Linked DNA regions of Homo sapiens: regions 2 and 3 are each linked to region 1. Evidence: promoter capture Hi-C in 16 types of primary human blood cells and fetal thymus (Javierre and others, 2016). All regions are on one chromosome and are shown on one strand. The core of a region is centred on a gene start or on the middle of the fragment in contact, and the rest is flanking DNA. Distances in the headings are between cores, read along the strand shown.

Evidence for each region. The method cuts DNA at HindIII sites, captures the fragments that hold promoters and counts their contacts. A CHiCAGO score of 5 or more calls a contact.
Region 2: a fragment that was not itself captured here is called in contact with the fragment with the promoter of DYNC1LI1 in region 1 in 1 of 17 cell types (erythroblasts); the score reaches 5.3 in erythroblasts.
Region 3: a fragment that was not itself captured here is called in contact with the fragment with the promoter of DYNC1LI1 in region 1 in 2 of 17 cell types (neutrophils and erythroblasts); the score reaches 10.4 in neutrophils.

The regions. Positions count from the first base shown.
Region 1 is chr3:32,568,235-32,573,056 of GRCh38, reverse strand. It overlaps DYNC1LI1 (dynein cytoplasmic 1 light intermediate chain 1), which reads left to right and starts at 2,199. Exons shown (of 13, transcript NM_016141.4): 1 at 2,199-2,432; 2 at 2,638-2,711. The coding sequence starts at 2,287. RefSeq lists silencers at 2,002-2,261, 2,442-2,931 and an enhancer at 2,206-2,991. The HindIII fragment of the contact is 15,701 bases long and covers 1-4,822 here.
Region 2 is chr3:32,650,509-32,655,340 of GRCh38, reverse strand. No RefSeq gene overlaps it. Among named protein-coding and RNA genes, the nearest start is that of CNOT10, 32 kb to the left of the region's middle. The HindIII fragment of the contact is 6,784 bases long and covers 1-4,832 here.
Region 3 is chr3:32,675,447-32,679,902 of GRCh38, reverse strand. No RefSeq gene overlaps it. Among named protein-coding and RNA genes, the nearest start is that of CNOT10, 7.5 kb to the left of the region's middle. The HindIII fragment of the contact is 3,283 bases long and covers 622-3,904 here.

The DNA.
Region 1 (4,822 bases), core at 950-3,449:
TTATCTATAAACTTCTGATCTGTGTGACCTGGGGTAGGTTACTTAATTTTGCTGACCCTTACAAAGTATGAGGATTGCAAATACAACACACAGAGTGCCTGGCACATAGTAGGCATTCATAAATGACCACTTTTGTCAGCCACCTTAATGGAAGAATGCTGGATAGGGATATTATAAAACCACAAGGAATACAACTTTGACCTCAATTTAGGTGGGTAGTTGAGCATCTGGAAGTCATGAGGTGTTGAAGCCTGACACTATTATAAAAGTAAACACTTCTCAGACTAAGCAAATATGATATGGAACTGACAACAAAATTGAGGGGAAAATGCTCTGAGGAAGATGACTGAAAGAATAAAGTACAGAGTAAAATGGCTTTCAGAGGGGCCAAGAGCAGTATACAGCTCTCCTTTAGAACAGTAACATAAAGACTCAGCTTCTCCTGGGGGTCTCCATCCTGCTTTGTGCCACAGAAAGTGTAGGACTACTGGGGAGGGTTCTGGTTCCTTTCTTAAGTATATAAACAACAAAATCAAAAGTTTTATTTTATTTATTTATTTATTTATTTAGTGACAGGGTCTTGCTCTGTCATCCAGGCTGGATTGCAGTGGCATGATCACAGTTCACTGCAGCCTCGACCTCCTGGACTCAGGTGATCCTCCCACCTCAGCCTCCTAAATAGCTGGGACTATAGGCACACACCACCACGCTTGGCTAATTTTTTGTAGAGCCGGGGTTTCGCCATGTTGCCCAGGCTGGTCAAGAACTCCTGGGCTTAAGCAATCTGCCTGCCTTGGCCTCCCAAAGCGCTGGCATTACAGGTGACAAAGAATTTTAGCTCCAAGAGTTCTTTAGGCCCATCACTTCTAGAGGTTGGTCAGATATTAATGGTGTGAAAGGTAAAGAAAGTCATTGATAACAATTAACATGTGGTAAGCGCTTAAGATTTGCCAGTCGTTATTCTAAGCCATTTTACATGAATCATCCCGTTTAATCTCAATAACAACTCTAAGTTCTTTTATCCTCATTTGACAGATAAGGAAACTGAGACTCACGGAGGTTAAGTAAATTGCCTAAGGTTACACAGCCAGTAAACTCGAAGAGCTAGACCTGAACTCAGATTTGCCAGCCTCCAAAGGCTTCCAGACTTCTAACCGTAATGCTAATATATAGCAAATAGTCTTTAGTTGTGGATTTTCTCACTAGCATAACAGCATTGATCAGGCCATATTCTAGCAAGTGATTTTCAAATATGAAGTGACAGAGATAACATACAAAGGCCAGGCAATTTTAAGCAAATGCTCTTACAGGTGTACTAGGACAGAGCCTTAAAACCAATGACTCCTTCTAAACATGGAGTTCAGACATTCAAATACCTTTACCTAGTAAAGTTCTAATAGAAAAGGAGTTATTTTAGGGCTAGTATAAGTCCATCCATGTATTCCCAGTGTCAACTGTGCTCGACGTAGTAAGTGTGGAATCAATGTCTAGTGACCGGTTAGATGACCCGCATAGTGGATCTTTTCAAATCTCACATGGAGGATCTCATACAAAAACATTAAGAACATTAAAGCAAGCCCTGACAATAATTTTTAAAAAATAACAGTCTATTTCCAGGGTAAACAATTACTTTGTCACGCCGCTGCTTAGGGGCTCGGAGAACCTGCTTCTGATGTGGGTCCAGGTTGAGGAACACTTCGCCACTTGAGAACGCAAATAAAGTCCAGAAATCCAGGACCACAGCAATACTCCAGCCCAGGGTTGCAGGGCAGCCTCTTTACCAGCCGGGCGACCCATTTCTATCTTGGCGCCGGCGAAGCGCCGGTTTGGGCGGGGGACCGCTCTCAGCCTGAACAGTGGGTGGGCCGGCAATGACAATGCAGGAATTCCGCGCAGGCCGCAGGGTTTGGGGACCTGTCTGAAGGGTGGGAGGGAGCACTTTTCACCTGACACACCCAACCCCCCTGCCGCAGCCCAGGGCCGCGGATGAGCGGAAGGAAAGCACTTCCATACTGTCAGATCACTGGGCTTCAGTTGCAGCATAGCGGCCCACCCCGCCGCCCGCGTACGCTCAGCCCCTCAGCGCCGGCCAGGCAGCCACGCACGCGCAGTCCGTTCTCGCTCGCTCCATCAGTCCTGGCCCGGCCCGGGGCCCCGCCCCCGCAGGCCCCGCCCCGCTCCCGTGCGCTGAACGCCCCATATCCGGGTTCCCGCCGCCTCCACCGCCACCGCCTCAGCCGCCTCGCACATTTAGTCTTGCCGGGAGTGGTGTGATTCCCGACCAAGATGGCGGCCGTGGGGCGAGTCGGCTCCTTCGGTTCTTCTCCGCCGGGATTATCCTCGACTTACACTGGCGGCCCCTTGGGCAACGAGATAGCGTCGGGCAACGGTGGCGCCGCGGCAGGCGACGACGAGGACGGGCAGAACCTTTGGTAACGACTCCACCTCTCCCTCAGCCCCCGCTGGCTCCCCCGGCCTTGCGCGGACGCCTCGGGATCCCGTGCCCGCTGGAGCTCGGCGCCGGGCCCGGCCACTGCGTTCCCGGCAGCCCCATCCCCGGCGCGCCGAGGCCGGGTCCGTCCCTCCCGCGCTGCGGCTCCGGCCTCCGGCCTCACCGTACGCCTTGCTTCCCGTTAGGTCCTGCATCCTCAGCGAGGTCTCCACCCGCTCGCGCTCCAAGCTCCCTGCGGGGAAGAACGTGCTACTGCTGGGTAAGTGTTCCCTGCCTCGCCCCGCCCCGCCCGGCCCCCAGCGGCCCGGGGTACCTGGTCCGCGGGCTAGCTCGCTGGCTCTCTTTGTGCGGACAGCCGGCCCAGCCCCGCCCCGCCTCGCCTCCCGACCTGTCGCGGATGGCTGGGAGAGAAGGGGAACACGAGACCCTTGACCCAGGACCTGCGGGGACCCGCCCTCCCTCAGGTTCCTCCTCCTCCTCCCCGGTATATGGGGGTGGCCCTGACAGCTTCCCCTGGGAAGGACAGAATTCGATCGCTCATCTGAGGGATTCTCGTGGCCTGGGGTTTATCTAGAAAATGACAGGTTTTCTTTCATCACAAAAATTGGTAGCAGGAGGCTCTTTGCGAGAGCTGCAGCGCAAATGGCATGCCATTAATATTTAATAGCTGACTCTTTGTATAATTGACAGAAGCTAGAACTAAGACCTGGCGATAAATGTTCTTGATTCAGCGTTCTCTGGTACAATGTGCTCGTGTTGCAGCTACCTTAACTGTCACATATAATTCTGAAATTTGTAAAGGGCAGTAGAACACAACTTTCTAGTTAAGTCTTTTCAGCCAAATGGATGTAATAAGGAGAAACGGTCCAGTGTCAGTTCTCCTGATTGTTCTGTATCTCCTCGGCTCTCTGGAAGTTGTGTATTCTGTTTCTTTAGTGACTCTGGGGGTGGGGATAGAGGACTGAGGGAGAATAGTTCGCAGATTCGCATTTTTCTAGGCTTAGCTCCTGAATCATTTATAGGAGAAATTTCTCTATATAGCTCTTTACATGCGAGATAACTGAAGTTTGGCTTATACGATGATTAAATTTAAAAACTTTGGTATTTGGTGTCGGCTCAATACCAGAGTTTTTTGTTGTTGTTGTTGTTGTTTTGGTTATATCCATCTAAAAACAGGAAACAAGAAGTCAAATACTACTTGATAGGCTGCGTGGTTAAATATGAATGTTTACATAGAAAAAATTACTTTTTTAATAGACTGCTGCCAAGCAAGAATATATGATTATTGATATTCTTTAAAGCTACATGGAGCTAGTTGAAAAATTAGTTTTTACCCTTGTTTTTAATGTGGTTGAAAGCACCTACTGAAGATTAGCCTGGATTGAGTCACTGCCCTATCACATATAAGCCCTAGGATCTTAAGCAAGTTGCTTGACATCTATAAACCTCAGTTTCTTCATCTTTAAAATGGTTGTTATAGAAATAATAATACTTGCCTCTAGGGTTGTGGCGGGAATCAAATGAGTTAATGTTTGTATCGTGGTAATATTTGCAAGTGATACTTTGTCATGGATTTATCTTAAACTGCATTAGAAAATATTTGTGATCAGAACTTTTTAAAAAATTGAATTAGTGCCTACATAAGTGATATTCATAGGGCAAAAATAAATTAGGATCCAAAAGCAAAAAAAAATTGTATAATATATTTTTAGTTTACTAATTTAAACAAATTACTACTCATTTCTAAGGTAAAATGGATTTAAGCTCATATGACCTCATTGAAATTGATTCTATTTTAATTAAATATTTGGAAACACTGTCATGGTAAAGGTAAGATTCAGTAGTTTTGTTCTTATTTTATACATTTTGTCCAGTTATTTCTGCACATTAGATATTGTGTAGATGATTCTGTTTATGGTAAAACAAAAGTGGCAGTTTTGTTCATTTTTTGGTATACCTAATTTGCACTGAGGTTGTGCCATTTTTTTTTTAACACCCCTTTGACACTGGGTCTGTGCATGGGACTGAGTGTTCTTAGAGGTCCCAGCCTCCTTCACTCCACCATACAAGAATAGATTAAATTTCCTTTTTTATGAACTTAATAGTTCATAAAGTGCATCTAATATCAGGTAATATGAGCTTGAAATTTAATATTTTTCTTTCAGTACTATTGGGATTTTCATCAGAGAGTCCTTTTCAGCTTTGGAAGGAGCTAATAACTGATTTGTATACTGGTTACAAAAATAGAGTTAACTTTCTAAAATACCCCTGAAGATTTCTTACAGACATTTCACCGTCACATATGGCAGCATTCACTCTGTGCTGGTGGAGGAAAGAAATACCAAATAGGGATTGTGGTTTTCTTTGTTA
Region 2 (4,832 bases), core at 1,682-4,181, 82 kb before region 1:
TCTACAATGATGAAAGTATACAATATTTGCACTGTCCAGTAGCCATTAGTCAATACATTGTATGGACGTATCTGTAAGCCAGGTGTGAGCTTTTTGGCAAAGCTGGTCATAGGAGAGTCTACACAAGACCATGGATGTGGATTGATGGAGGGGCAGCAATGCAGCAAGAGTAGGTGTCAAAGGAGGAGCAGATATTGAACAAGTCAGAGCCATGTGCCTATCTGACTTACTTATGCGTTCTAGGCATGCTTCATTCCGTATCATATATACCACCACCGCCTGATGATGGATTGCTGCACATGCATCACCTCATGGCTTGGCAGGTGTATTAGTCTGTTCTCACACTGCTATAAAGACATACCTGAGGCCAAGTATGGTGGCTCATGCCTGTAATCCCAGCACTTTGGGAGGCTGAGGCAGGTGAATCACTTAAGGTCAGGAGTTCAAGACCAGCCTGGGCAACATGGTGAAACCCCATCTCTACTAAAAATACAAAAATTAGCCAGGCATGGTGGCAGGTGCCTGTAGTCCCAGCTACTCGGGAGGCCGAAGCAGGAGAATTGCTTGAACCTGGTAAGTGGAGGTTGCAGTGAGCTGAGATTGCACCACAGCACTCCAGCCTCGGCGACAGAGCAAAACTCTGTCTCAAAGAAAAGATGGCTGGGTGTGGTGGCTCACGCCTGAAATCCCAACACTTTGGGAGGCCAAGGCGGGTGGATCACCTGAGGCCAGGAGTTCAAGACCAGCCTGGCCAACATGGTGAAACCCCTTCTCAACTAAAAATACAAAAAAATTAGCTGGGCGTTGTGGTGGGTGCCTGTAATCTCAGCTACTTCGGGAGGCTGAGGCAGGAGAATTGCTTGAACCCAGGAGGCAGAGGTTGCAGTAAGCTGAGATTGTGCCATTGTACTCCAGCCTGGGTGACAAGAGAGAAACTCTGTCTCAAAAAAAAAAAAAAAAAGGACATACCTGAGTATCTGAGACTGGGTAATTTATAAAGAAAAGAAGTTTAATCATTTAATCGACTCACAGTTCTGTAGGCTGTACAGGCTTCTGCTTTTGGAGAGGCCTCAGGAAACCTACAATCACGGCAGAAGGCAAAGGGGAAGCAGGCACATGTTCGCATGGCTGGCAGGAGAGAGAGAGAGAAAAGGGGGAGGTGCTATACACTTCTTTTTTTTTTTTGAGATGGAGTCTTGCTTTGTCACCCAGGCTGCAGTGCAGTGGTGCAATCTCAGCTCACTGCAACCTCCGCCTCCCAGGTTCAAGTAATTCTCCTGTCTCAGCTTCCCGAGTAGCTGGGACTATAGGTGTGGGCCACCATGCCCGGCTAATTTTTGTATTCTTAGTAGAGACGGGGTTTCACCGTATTGGTCAGGCTGGTCTCGAACTCCTGACCTCAGGTGATCCACCTGCCTCGGCCCCCCCAAAGTGCCAGGATTACAGGCATGAGCCACCATGCCCAGCCAAAATCAACTCAAAATTACTTAAAGACTTTTTTTTTTTTTTTTTGAGATAAAGTTTCGCTCTTGTTGCCAGGCTGGAGTGCAGTGGCACGATTTGAGCTCACTGCAACCTCCCCTTCCTGGGTTCAAGCGATTCTCCTGCCTCAGCCTCCTGAGTAGTTGGTATTACAGACATGCACCACCACGCCTGGCTAATTTTATACTTTTAGTAGAGACAGGGTTTCGCCATGTTGGGCAGGCTGGTCTTGAACTCCTGACCTCAGGTGATCCACCAGCCTCGGCCTCCCAAAATGCTGGGATTACAGACATGAGCCACCGCGCCCAGCCACTACTGTAGGCTTTATAAACACTATATACTTAGGCTATGCTAAATGTATAAAAAATATTTTTTCTTCAATAATATTTTTACCTTATAAAGTTTAAGAAATCTTTTTGACTCTTGTAATAACACTTAGCTTAAAATACAAACACATAGTGCAGCTGTACAAAAATATTATTTCTTTATATCCTTATCGTATAAGTTTTTTTCTATTTTAAAATTTTTGGGCCGAGCACAGTGGGCAGTGGTGTGTGCCTGTAATCTCAGCACTTTGGGAGGCCAAGCTGGGTGGATCTCTTGAGCTCAGGAGTTTGAGACCAGCCTGGGCAACATGGTGAAACCTCATCTCTATGAAAAATATAAACATTAGCTGGGCATGATGGTGTGTGTCTGTAGTCCCTGCTACTCAGGAGGTTGAGGTGAAATGATAGCTTGAGCCCAGGAGGTTGAGGCTGCAGTGAGCTGTGATTGCGCCACTGAACTCCAGCCTAGGCGACAGAATGAGGCTGTATCCAAAAAAAAAAAAAAAGAAAAAGTATTTTGTTTTTTATTTTTTAAATTTTTTTGTTAAAAGCTAAGACAGAAACACAAGGCTGGGCACAGTGACTCATGCCTGTAATCCCAGCACTTTGGGAGGCTGAGGATCACTTGAGCTCAGGAGATCCACCCACCTCCGCCCCTACAAAGTGCCGGGATTACAGGCATGAGCCACCATGCTCAGTCAAAATCAACTCAAAATTACTTAAAGACTTTTTTTTTTTTTTTTTTTTGAGGTGAAGTTTCGCTCTTGTTGCCCAGGCTGGAGTTTAGTGGCACGATCTCAGCTCATTGCAACCTCCCCTTCCTGGGTTCAAGCGATTCTCCCGCCTCAGCCTCCTGAGTAGTTGGGATTACAGACATGCACCACCACACCTGGGCAAAATGGTGAAACCCCATCCCTACTACAAATACAAAAAATTAGCTGGGCATGGTGGTGCATGCCTGTGGTCCTAGCTACTCAGGAGGCTGAGGTGGGAGGATCGCTTGAGCCTGGAAGGTAGAGGTTGCAGTGAGCTGAGATTGTGCTACTGCACTCCAGCCTGGGCAACAGAGCCAGACCCCACCTCAAAAAAAATTAAAAAAAAAAAAAAAAGAAAACCAAAAACTAAGACACAAACACCAATATTCTCCTAGGTCTACATAGGGTCAGGGTCATCAATGTCATTATTTTCTCCCTCAATATTTTCTCCCACTGGAAGTTCTCCAGAGGCAATAACGTGCATAGAGCTGTCATCTCCTATGATAACAATGCCTTCTTCTGGAATTCCTCCTGGAGGACCTGCCTCAGGTTGTTTTACAGTTAACTCCTTTTTCTTTTTTAATGAGTACAAAGAGTAGACACCATGATTAAAAATATAGTATAGTAAATACATAAACCTGTAGCAAGTCATTTATTATCATTATGAAGTATTATGTGCTTACCTAATTGTAAGTGCTACACTTTTACACAACTGGCAGTGCAGGTTTCTTTACATCGGCATCACCATAAATTCACAAGTAATGTATTGTGCTACAATGTTATAACAGCTACAATGTCACTAGGTGATAGGAATTCATTTTTAGATTTTTTAAAATTTTTACTTTGGTAGAGATGGGGTCTTACTGTGTTGTCCAGGCTGTTCTTTTTTTTTTTTTTTTTTTTTTTTTGAGACGGAGTCTCGCTCTGTCGCCCAGGCTGGAGTGCAGTGGCGGGATCTCGGTTCACTGCAAGCTCCGCCTCCCGGGTTCACGCCATTCTCCTGCCTCAGCCTCCCAAGTAGCTGGGACTACAGGCGCCCGCCACTATGCCCGGCTAATTTTTTTTTTGTATTTTTAGTAGAGACGGGGTTTCACCGTTTTAGCCGGGATGGTCTCGATCTCCTGACCTCGTGATCCGCCCGCCTCGGCCTCCCAAAGTGCTGGGATTACAGGCGTGAGCCACCGCGCCCGGCCCCAGGCTGTTCTTAAACTCCTGGCCTCAAGTGATGCTCCTGTCTTGGCCTCCCAAAGTGCTGGGATTACAGGCATGAGCCACTATGCTGAACCTTGCAATAGGAATTTTTAAGCTCCATTATAATCTTATGGGACCATTGTTGTACATGTGGTTCATGACTGATTGAAACATCATGATAAAGCACATGGCTATGCTTGACTTCCCATAGTCAAACATGTCTCTAGCAGGGCTTAGTAGTAAATCAGAAACTGCTTCTCAAAAGGAGAATAATTAACAGCAAAAGAGGGCATGACTTTGCTCCAGAATTGTACATATGTGTGCTAAGATTCTCCTCCTGGGGCTCACCAGTGGCTTTGTCTAGTACCTTAAAATTTTTTTTTTTTTTTTGGCTGGGCGCAGTGGCTCACGCCTGTAATCCCAGCACTGTGGGAGGCCGAGGCGGGCGGATCAAGAGATCAGGAGATCAAGACCATCCTGGCTAACACTGTGAAACCCTGTCTCTACTAAAAATACAAAAAATTAACCGGGCCAGGTGGCGGGCACCTGTAGTCCCAGCTACTGGGGAGGCTGAGGCAGGAAAATGGCGTGAACCCAGGAGGCGGAGCTTGCAGTGAGCCAAGATCATGCCACTGCACTCCAGCTTGGGCGATAGAGCGAGACTCCGTCTCAAAAAATAAATAAATAAATACAAAATAAATTTCCTTTTTTTTTAACCAAAGAACATTCAAAGTGTTATGTGTCCAAAGGCCCAAGTGGCACAGTGGCTTGTACCACAGCCGGGATTTGCTGCAGAGTTTTTTATTGCTTTGGGACATCACTCAAAATTGGTTCCTTTATGCTAAGTGGGTTGGAGCAGCACACCCAAATATAGTATGTTTGCTTTCAAAATCCCAAGAAGCTAAAACTGTAAAATCCTTAGAAGAAAATAGGCATAAAACTTTGTGACCTCAGATCATGCAATAGTTTCTTATCTATAATACTTAAAGTACAGCCAGCAACCAAAGAAAAAATAGATAAAATGGACTTTATCAAAATTAAAAACTATTGAACATCAAAGGACACTCTCAAAAAAAAT
Region 3 (4,456 bases), core at 1,014-3,513, 110 kb before region 1:
ATTTCTTCTAGGAATTGTAACAGAAGATGAAACATGGCTTTACCAGTACAATTTTGTAGACAAAGCATAATCAAAGCAATGACTACCAAGAGGTTGGAGGGGTCCAGTCAAAGCAAAAGCACACCAATCAAGATCAAAGATCGTGGCAACAGTTACTGGGGATGTTCAACTCATTTTGCTTGTTGACTTTCTGGAGGGCCAAAGAATAATAACATCTGCTTATTATGAGAGTGTTTTAAGAAAGTTAGCCAAAGTTTTAGGAAAAAAAGAAAAGAATTCCGGGTGCGGTGGCTCACGCCTGTAATCCCACCACTTTGGGAGGCTGAGGTGGGCAGATCACGAGGTCAAGAGAGCAAGACCATCCTGGCCAACATGGTGAAACTCTGTCTCTACTAAAAAATACAAAAATTAGCTGGGTGTGGTGGCATGTGCCTGTAGTCCCAGCTACTTGGGAGGTTGAGGCAGGAGAATCACTTGAACTAGGGCGGCAGAGATTGCAGTGAGCCAAGATCACACCACTGCACTCCAGCCTGGCGACAGAGTGAGACTCTGTCCCAAAACAAAACAAAACAAAAAACAAAAAAACTGAAAAGAAAAGAAACAAAACCACACAGGAAAGCTTTACTAGAGAGACTTTCTCCACCACAACAATGCTCCTGTTCATTCCTCTCATCAAACCAGGGCAATTTTTTGAGAGTTTCAGTGGGAAATCATTAGGCATCCACCTTACAGTCATGATTTGGCTTCTTCTGACTTTTTTTTTTCTAACCTTAAGGCTAAGGCAGGCAGATCACTAAAGAACTGAGGGGCCTGGGGATTTAACCATGTCAATGCATGTCTTTTTTTCATTGTTAGCTGAATAAAATGGGTGCCCTTTAAGATTTTTTTTTTTTTAATGGAGTCTCCCTCTGTTGCCCAGGCTGGAGTGCAGGGGCATGATCTCAGCTCACTGCAACCTCCACTTTCCAGGTTCAAGCCATTCTCATGCCTCAGCCTCCTGAGTAGCTGAGATTGCAGGCGTGCGCCACCACACTGGGCTAATTTTTGTATTTTTAGTAGAGAGAGGGTTTCACCAAGTTGCCCAAGCTAGTCTCAAACTCCTTACCTCAAGTGATCTGGTATCATCATTTATAAGTGTCTTGAACTCAATGAAGTTTATGTTAAGAAATGAAGTTTATCTTTTTAATTCTATTTTTCCATGAACTTTTTTTTTTTTTTTGAGACAAAGTTTCACTATTGTCACCCAGGCCGGAGTGGACTGGCTCAATCTCGGCTCACTGCAACCTACGCCTCCTGGGTTCAAGTGATTCTCCTGCCTCAGCCTCCCAAGTAGCTGGGATTACAGGCGCCCACCACCAAGTCCAGCTAATTTTTTGTATTTTTAGTACAGACGGGGTTTCACTATGTTGGCCACGTTGGTCTCAAACTCTTGACCTCAGGTGATCCACCCGCCTTGGCCTCCCAAAGTGCTGGGATTACAGGCGTGAGCCACTGCGCCTGGCCCAAACATCAATTTTCTAAGTGACCCATTTAGGCTCACTGCAACCTCTGCCTCCTGGGTTCAAGTGATTCTCCTGCCTCAGCCTCCCAAGTAGCTGGGACTACAGGCGCCCGCCACCACGGCCGGCTTATTTTTTGTATTTTTAGTGGAGACGGGGTTTCACTATGTTGGCCAGGATGGTCTCAATCTCTTGACCTCGTGATCTGCCTGCCTCGGCCTCCCAAAGTGCTGGGATTACAGGCGTGAGCCACCGCGCCTGGCCCATGTTATTCTTTTAAACTGCTGAGTTTGAAGATGCTTTGTTGTGCAGCAACAGGTAACTGAAACATCTACTAATTCATTTCCCCATCTAGTTCAACCAACCAAGGTCTGTGCATTCTACTTCTTAAATAGGCTGGATCTTCCCATTCTCACTGCTACTCCATTCCTAAGCCTAAATCCCAACTGAGACTAGCGCCACTTCAACCTTTTCATCTGGTCTGTTTTCCTCCAGAATCCTTCCATTTAGCCAAAGATTTTTAGAAATATGAATTGGATTATATCCACACCCATTTAAGACAATTCAATGCTCTTAGTACCAAGTCCAAACTCCTTAAAAGGCCTTTTTTTTTTTTGAGATGGAGTTTTGCTCTTGCCCAGGGTGGAGTGCAATGGCGAGATCTTAGCTCACTGTAACTTCCAACTCCCGGTTCAAGTGATTCTCCTGCCTCAGCCTCTGGAGTAGCTGGGATTACGGGTGCCCGCCACCACATCTGGCTATTTTTTTGTACTTTTAATAGAGACAGGGTTTCCCCATGGTGCTCAGGCTGGTCTCGAACTCCTAATATCAGGTGATCCACCCGGCTTGGGCTCCCAAATTGCTGGGATTATAGGTGTGAACCACTGTGCCCGACCTACAAGGACTTTTAAGGGCCTTCACAATCTGGCTGTGACCTCTGGCTTCATGTCTCCATACTCCCCACTTTGGCCATATTACTGGGGTTCCTCAGAGGCACTATATTGTTTTTTTGCATTTGCCATGGCATTTGTCTATAATCCCCTTTAGCCTCCACTCCACATGCTCTTTTTTTTTTTTTTTTTAAGACTGAGTCTCTCTGTCACGCAGGCTAGAGTGCAGTGGCACAATTTCAGCTCACTGCAACCTCTGCCTCCTGGGTTCAAGCAATCCTCTTGCCTCAGCCTCCTGAGTAGCTGGGACTACAGGCATGCAGCATCATGCCTGGCTAATTTTTGTATTTTTAATGGAGATGGGGTCTCACCATGTGCCCAGGCTGGTCTCGAATTTCTGACCTCAGGTGATCCACCTGCCTTGGCCTCCCAAAGTGCTGAGATTACAGGCGTGAGCCACTGTGCCTGGCCACACACTCTTGTGTAGCCAATGCCATCACCTTCCAAGGAAGGACGAGTGTCATTTTCCCAAGAAGACTTTTTTGACTGCCAAAGACTGTACTACTAGCACTTTGGGAGGCCAAGGCAGGCGGATCACGAGGTCAAGAGATTGAGACCATCCTGGCCAACATGGTGAAACCCCGTCTCTACTAAAAATACAAAAATTAGCTAGGCGTGGTGGCGTGCACCTGTAGTCCCAACTACTCGGGAGGCCGAGGCAGGAGAATCGCTTGAACCTGGGAGGCAGAGGTTGCAGTGAGCCAAGATCGTGCCAGTGCACTCCAGCCTGGCGACAGAGCGAGACTCCATCTCAAAAAAAAAAAAAAAGACTGTACTAACATCTTTCAAATCTTCTATTACACTTCGGGGACAATCTCTTGGCATGAATCCCCTTGCCACCACCCTAACTGTAATCTCCAAATTCTGCCTTTAAATATTATCAATATTGTATTTCCATTGATTTGTATATGCGTCCGATGCGTAGTAAGCACTATGATATCTGTAACCACACAACTTTAAAATATAATTCCTCACTATATCGGGGTGTTAAACAGTCTTTACTTTTGTATGGCCTTTGATGGTTTCATACAGAGTTTGTACAATTATTTCTCTTTTTATCCTTAACATCCCTGTGATAAGGATATTCATACCCATTTTATAGATAAGGAAAGTGCGGCTTTTTTTGATTTCTGAAAAGTAAATCAGTAGATCAACTTGCTCAGCTAGTAAGTATTAGAACTAGAACTTGAAAAGAGTTCTTGGACTCTAGATGTGACTCTTTCTAGGTCCCTGAGGGTTAAATCAAGGTGTTATTATTCCCATAATCAAGATTTAGATGGAAACTACAAATGGTTTTGCAACTGATTCATCACAGGAACACTCTGTTACCAAGAAGTACTACAAAGGTGCAAAAGCATAAATTTCTGCCCCTTTTTCCAAAGCAGTAACATACCCAGGGACATCAAGCCCCTGGCCCAACTGTGCTTCTCTTTCACTGGCTGTTCAAATCAAGCTTCCAAGGGAAAGCTATTTGCTAACTTAAAGTGTGGTAGTAACCGTTGGACCCAAGTCTGGTAAATTTTGTTTGACCTGCCTTGGCCTCCCAAAGCCCTGGGATTATACTTATTTGTCAATGAAGTCATGTACTTGGGTAGTACACATGCACTGCAAATATTTATGTTGTCTAACTGAACCAGGGTCCCTTCACCTGGCACAGTAAGGCCAAATACCCACACCAAGGTTTGTGGTGGGAGAAAGGAGTGTTTATCTGTAGGGCACCAAGCAAGGAGAATTGGGCAGCTCATGCTTAAGATCCAACCTTCTTGATGGCTTGCAAGTAAGGGTTTTTAAAGGTAGGTGGGGGCAGGTGTGGTGGCTCACACCTATAATCTCAACACTTTGGGAGGCTGAGGTGTGAGGATCACCTGAGCCCAGGAGGTCAAGGCTGCAGTGAGCAGTATCCTTGCCATTTCATTCCAGTCTGGGTAACAGATCGAGAACCTGTCTCAAAAAAAAAAAAAAAAAAAGTTCAGCCATAATTTATAAGGTTATAACTCATGAAAGGGA